Linked DNA regions of Homo sapiens: region 1 is linked to region 2. The links are contacts of gene promoters, found by promoter capture Hi-C in human tissues and cell types (Jung and others, 2019). All regions are on one chromosome and are shown on one strand. The core of a region is centred on a gene start or on the middle of the fragment in contact, and the rest is flanking DNA. Distances in the headings are between cores, read along the strand shown.

The links. Contacts are between HindIII fragments. The study calls those that stand out against the background at their distance.
Region 1: a contact is called between a fragment that was not itself captured here and the fragment with the promoter of ZNF138 in region 2, in 2 of the 25 tissues and cell types used here (H1 embryonic stem cells and hippocampus).

Annotation. Positions count from the first base shown.
Region 1 is chr7:64,708,210-64,711,555 of GRCh38, reverse strand. ZNF107 (zinc finger protein 107) reads right to left here. Exons shown (of 4, transcript NM_001282359.2): 4 at 1-3,346. The coding sequence ends at 2,900. Among named protein-coding and RNA genes, the nearest start is that of MIR6839, 31 kb to the right of the region's middle. The HindIII fragment of the contact is 5,049 bases long and covers 1-3,346 here.
Region 2 is chr7:64,792,668-64,795,852 of GRCh38, reverse strand. It overlaps ZNF138 (zinc finger protein 138), which reads right to left and starts at 1,425. Exons shown (of 4, transcript NM_001271639.2): 1 at 1,282-1,425. The coding sequence starts at 1,284. RefSeq lists enhancers at 825-1,385, 1,170-1,409, 1,650-1,699. The HindIII fragment of the contact is 15,546 bases long and covers 1-3,185 here.

The sequences.
Region 1 (3,346 bases), core at 640-3,139, 85 kb after region 2:
CTCAGAATTTTCTCATGGTTTATTTATACTTGTATATAATTTTTATTATAACCATAAAATGACCCTGTAGTAACGACTGTACATTCTAAAGTATCTAAAAGTGCAGAATTGGTTTGTAATACAAAGGAGAAATGCTGGAGTTGATGGATACATCTTTTGCCCTGATGTGATTAATACATAAAATTATATGCCTGTATCAAAATATGCCATACATGGCATAAAGATATACACATACTATGTATCCACAAAAATTAAGAGAAATAAGTTTAAATTTTAAAAAGAATAAAAATCTAACCTATGGGAACAATATTCTTTATTAGCAGTTTAAAGTCACTAGCAAAAATAATTATTAGAGATGTTAGCCCATTATGTTATCAAGTAGTATACTGTTACCCTCTTTTACCTAAACCCTTGAGTAATGTGGGATAGGTAAAGTCAGTGGCATGAAAACACTTCATTGAATGCACAATAGTTTTAACATGTTAAAAAAAGTTTAATTAAAAAACTAAGTTCACGCATAATCCAAAAATTTTTAAACACATTGCATTTTATTACATAAAAGTACAAATAGTAAAATGATATACTACTAATTCACTTTAATTTTAACTAAGATTAAAAATGGTTTTCTCTTACTATAATGCAGAAGAATATTGCTCTGAAAACCTACTTCATGGATCACTCAATATTATAAGTTAAACACAAACAGCCTCTTCACTCAGGTTTTCATCATGCATCTTACATTTTAATGTCCTTATTCTTTCATAGAAAGTGTCATAAATAATACCGACCTAACAGAAATGATTTCTCATATCTTTGATGCATGAAAAATTAATCACATGCTTTCACATGTGAATACAATAGGAATGAAGAGCATGAATTTGAGTTGAATTACATCATTTGCTTTTCAAAAACTAATTTTTCAAGAAAAAATATAATTTGAATGTAATTATACATCTACAAAAAAATTCTACTTCTTTTAAAGTTATATACACATTATTTACCTACCAACTTTAGTTTTAAATTATTTTCTATACTCAGCATTCTGATTCTATACTCAGCAATGTCTGAAGTGTCAGTACCTTAGATATTTCTACTGTGAATTCTCTGATATTTATATAGACTTAATTTTGGATTAAATTATTTTTATATTTACTTCACTTGCAAAAATATATTTTAGTATGAGGCCTCTGGTATTTTCTAAGCTGTAGTTTTTTAAAAAATGTTTTCACAAATGCATTACATTTACAGTGCTTTTCTCCAATATAAATTTTCTGGTGTTGAACAACATTTGAGCAACTGCTTCATGGTTTTCCTCTAGTGCAAAATGGGTACAAAAGTATCTGTGATACAAGTAAAGGTACTACAACCCTCTTCGTATTTGTATTGTTTGTCCTCACAATGAATACTCTTTTTTTGTTTTGTTTTTGAGACGAAGTTTTTGCTCTTGTTGCTTTGGCTGGAGTGTAGTGGTGTGATTTCAGCTCACTGCAATCTTCGCCTCCCAGGTTTGAGCAATTCTCCTGCTTCAGCCTCCCAATTAGCTGGGATTACAGGGGCCTGCCACCACACGCAGCTAATTTTTGTAAAATTTTTAATAGAGATGGGGTTTTGCTATGTTGGCCAGGCTGGTCTCAGACTCCTGCCCTCAGGTGATCCACCCACCTTGGCCTCCCAAAGTGCTGGCATTACAGATGTGAGCCAGCACAACTGGCTCCTCTTCTTCACTTTAAAGGCTTATATTTTCTGAAAGATCTCTTGACAAAAATTGCATTTATAATGCTTTTATTACGTACTAACTCTCTAATGTTGAGTAAAATCTGAGCAGATAATAATGGCTTTTCCACATTCCTTGTATTTGTACAATCTTTCTGAAGTATAAATGCTTTCCTGTGCAATAAGGGGTGAGCATTTATTAAAAGTGTTGCCACATTTTTTACACTTCCAGGAGTTTTCTTCAGTATGGATTCTTACCTACAATCAAGTGTGACAACCATTTAAAGGCTTTGTGATATTTTTCACATTTCTAGGATTTTTCACCAGTATGATTTATGTTAGAAAGTTCGAGGTGTTGTCAAAATTATTGTCACATCATTCAGGTTTGTAAAGTTTTCAGTATTATCTTATGTTTAGTGAGGTTTGAGGATTGGTTTAAAGTATTGCCACATTATTCACATTTGCAGGGTTTCTCTCAAAGTATAAACTGTCTTATATGTAGCAAGGTGTGAGGACCAGTTAAAGGCATTGCCACGTTTTTTACATTTGTAGGGTTTCTTTCCAGTATAAATACTCTTACATGTAGTAAGAGTTGAGAATCAGTTAAAAGCTTTGCCACAGACTTCACATTTGTAGGGTTTCTTTCCAGTATGAATTTTCTTATCTACAGTTAAGGGTTAAGGAAGGTTAAAAGCTTTGCCACATTCTTCACAATTGTAGGCTTTCTCTCCAGTATGAATTTCTGTATAGTAAGGTATGAGGATTGGTTAAAAGCTTTGCCACATTCTTCACAACTATAGAGTTCCTCTCCAGTATAAATTATCTTATGTGTAGAAAGGTGTGAGGACTGATTAAAGGCATTGCCACATTCTTCTCATTTGTATGGCTTTTCTCCAGTATGAATTACCTTATGTTTAGTAAAAGTTGAGGATCAGTTAAAGGATTTGCCACATTTTTCACATTTGTAGGATTCTCTCCAGTACGAATTTTCTCAACTTTCAGTAAGGTTTGAAGATTAGTTAAAAGCTGTGCCACATTCTTTACATTGTAAGGTTTCTCACCAGTATAAAATACCTCGTGTGTGCAGAAAAAGTTGAAGACTTGTTAAAGGCTTTAACACATTCTTCACATTTGTAGTTTCTCTCCAGTATGAATTTTCCTATGTGTAGTAAGCTTGTAGGATCAATTAAGTTTTGCCATACTCACATTTGTAGGGTTTCTCTCCAGTATGAATTTTCTTATGTGTAGTAAGATTTGAGGATAGGTTGAAAGCTCTGCCATAATCTCCACATTTGTAGGGTTTCTCTCCAGTATGAATTATCTTATGTATATTAAGAGATGAGAACTGGTTAAAGGATTTGCCACATTCTTCACATTTGTAGGGTTTCTCTGAAGTATGAATTTTCTTATGTGTAGTAAGGTTTGAGGATTGGTTAAAAGCTTTGCCACATTCTTCACATTTATAGGGTTTCTCTCCAGTATGAATTTTCTTATGTGCAGTAAGGGTTGAGGATAGGTTAAAAGCTTTGCCACATTCTTTACATTTGTAAGGTTTCTCTCCAGTATGAATTATCTTATGTCTATTAAGGGTTGAGGAGCAGTTAAAGGCTTTGCCACATTCTGCACATTGGTA
Region 2 (3,185 bases), core at 176-2,675:
ACAGTGGATATTTTGATTTATCCTCAGAAAGTACTGAAACCCAGGACCAAGGAAAAAACTGAAGAGTGACTAAGGACACATTACCTTATAAAGTTTCCAAAGGGAAACCTTGACCCAAAAATATTCTGATAAGATCTCTGTACCTAGGGAAGATTTAAAAAAAAAAAAAAAGGCACAGAGATTTTTTACAATACAGCATCAGGGGATGAGTCTTTGGTTTCTTCTCATGGGAAATATTTACAAACAGATAACAAATCTTTTTTAAAATGCCATCCATGCTTTGTCAAAAAATGATTAATTAAAATACAGTATTTCAAATGTACACTAAAGGACAAATAGTTGATAATGTGAATTAGGAAGGGGAAGTTGGCATTTGGGAATGTCAGAAGGAACTGGAAATTTAGTATTTTACTGCAAGCCAGAGTTAGGCTGAAGGAATGGGAAATGGGGAGGGGGAGGAGTCTTGAGACCCTGCTTGGGACACATGTGAAAAATGAAGGGGAAGATCTGTCCCCTGTGGAGTGTGAAAATAATTAAGTGGCAGGCAATTAGACTGAGGTCGCTCCAGTCCCAGGGTTTCTGGTTTTAAAAAAATCTAACTCAAATGCATTTTTTTGTAAATTACTACCTTGTGAAAAATAAAATTCATGTTTAACCAACTGTAAACTGCCAATTAACCTCTGATTACATGACCAGGAAATTTCCTCCTTCATTGTACAAATTAAGAAACTACATAACTCTACTAACCAATTACTGAATTTGGTTTTATCATACACCTTATACAAGTGTTTCCTTCAAACCCCTCCCACGGACCACTACTGCAAACCACAGCTGGGTGCTCCACAATTCTTGAATCACTGTTTGATTAAATTAATTTTTTTGCGGTGACTTTCATAAATTTTAATAGGGGAAAAGAGGGACAGGGAAGCCCGCGGAGGAAACCTCTTCCCATTCATGAACCCAGCACCCCGAGTCAGGATTCTCCCCTGACGACCCTCCCGTCGTCTCTGCACAATCGCTGCGGGTGCAGAGCTGCTCAGAGAGGGCTCCAGGCCAGGGCACAGTCACTGCGCAGGGAGGAGACAGGACGCCTGGTTCCGGCTGTCAGCCCAGCTGCCATGCTATGGCTTAAGGGGACTGAGGGCCGAGCTGTGCCAAGAACTCGGGGCCGCGGATTTTGCAGCCGACTGCGGGAAGACCCGAGTACTGCCACAGCCACTTCCGACCGGTTCCAACCAGCTCCCTCCCCCTCTCTCGGGATGTCGGACCCAGCACTCTCACCATTTCTAGGCTTCCGGGGGATCCTGGCGTCTTAGCTGTGAATCTCCCAATAACCAGATCACAGCGCCACAGAGGCTGGGCCTCTAGGAGTAAGAGGACGCAGAAAAGTGAAGGCCAGACCTGCAGCACCCGCTGCAGCGAGACAAAGACCCCGCCGCCTCCCGGAAGACGTCATGTCCGCTCCAGCTGGGTGCCTGATTGGACCGTTCCCAGCCCGGCGTCCCTGATTGGATAACGTTTAACAACCCGCCCCCTCAGGCCCTGAGTGACAGATGTGCTCAGGTGCTGGGCTGAAGGAAGACAGAGTTAAACCTAAGCAGCAGCCTTTTCCAGAAGGGCTTCCTCCCTGAGCTGAGTCAGGCCCACCCCAGAGGGCATTTGCATTTAACCTTGTGTATAAGGTCGTATGCATTTATAAATAACATATAGCTATTCACATCTGAATATAACAATTATTTTTAAATTCCAGATTTTATAACCGTACTGGCTTCTGGTCCTTTGAGCAGGCAGCCTGAGATTTTTTTCTTTTTTTTTTTTGAGACAGAGTCTCACTCTCACCCAGGCTCAAGCACAGTGGCACGATTTCGGCTCACCCCAAACTCCGCATCTCGGGCTCAAGTGATTCTCCTGCCTTAGCCTCCTGAGTAATTGGGATTACAGGCACCCGCCTCCACGCCCGGCTACTTTTTGTATATTTAATAGAGACAGAATTTTGCCATGTTGGTCAGGCTGATCTCGAACTCCTGACCTCAGGTGATCCACCTGCCTCGGCCTCCCAAAGTGCTGGGATTACAGAGCACATGTGAATTCCAAATTTTCTAGTAGTCAAACTTTAAGAATAAACAGGTGGAATTCACTCTAATTGAGATGGTTAGTCATTTAGGCTGGGCTCAGTGAGACCATTCTTGTGACCTCAGCTGAGTTCCTTCAGACATGTATCATCAGCTGCTTGTTGACTAGGCAGCTGTGCTTCTGGGGGTGAGCTTCTGCTTCTGAGGCTGTCAACAGAGGCAACTTGCTTCTCCTCCCCATACTATTTTATCTTCCATCTGGCTAACATGGGCTTTTTTCGCGGAGATAGTAGCCTTCTGAAAGAAAAACAGAAGCATGCAAAACCATTTGAGCCTACGCCTCAAACTAGCACACTGCACTGTTCACAGGTTTTTACTGCCCTGAGCAAATAAGGCCAGCCAGATCTAGGGTTTGGAAAACAGAACTGGATCTCAATGGAAACAGCTGTAAATGCACCTGGCAATGGGCATGGATAGCGGAGGGATGAAAAATTGCTAACATTTTTGCAATCAGTATCATTCTGCCTTTTTTTGCATATGTGGTTTATATAACTCTTCCACATCAAAAAAAAAAAAATTTGTGCAAAGACCCACAGCTATTAAGTGGCTGGGCTGGGACTCAGAATTAACTCCATTTGACCCTTGAAATCCTGGAGAGTGACACTTCTAAAATAGAAGCCAGATTTCTTTTAGATTTGTGCCCATATAGCACTGTTTATTATTATTGCTAGAAATAATCTTAAGAAATTGAAGAAGCACACGGTAGCTCACATCTATAATCCTAGCACTTTGGCAAGCTGAGATGGGAGAATCACTTGCGCTCAGGAGTTCAAGTGCAGCCTGAATAACATAGTTAAGATCCTATGTGCATGAAAATTTTTTTTTTTTTAATTAGCCAGTCATGGCCGGGCGCGGTGGCTCATGCCTGTAATCCCAGCACTTTGGGAGGCCGAGGAGGGCAGATCACGAGGTCAGGAGATCGAGACCATCCTGGCTAACACGGTGAAACCCCGTCTCTACTAAAAATACAGTCCCAGCTGCTCGGGAGGCTGAGGCAGGAGAATGGCATGAACCCACGAGATGGGGCTTGCAGTGAGCCAAGATCCCACCACT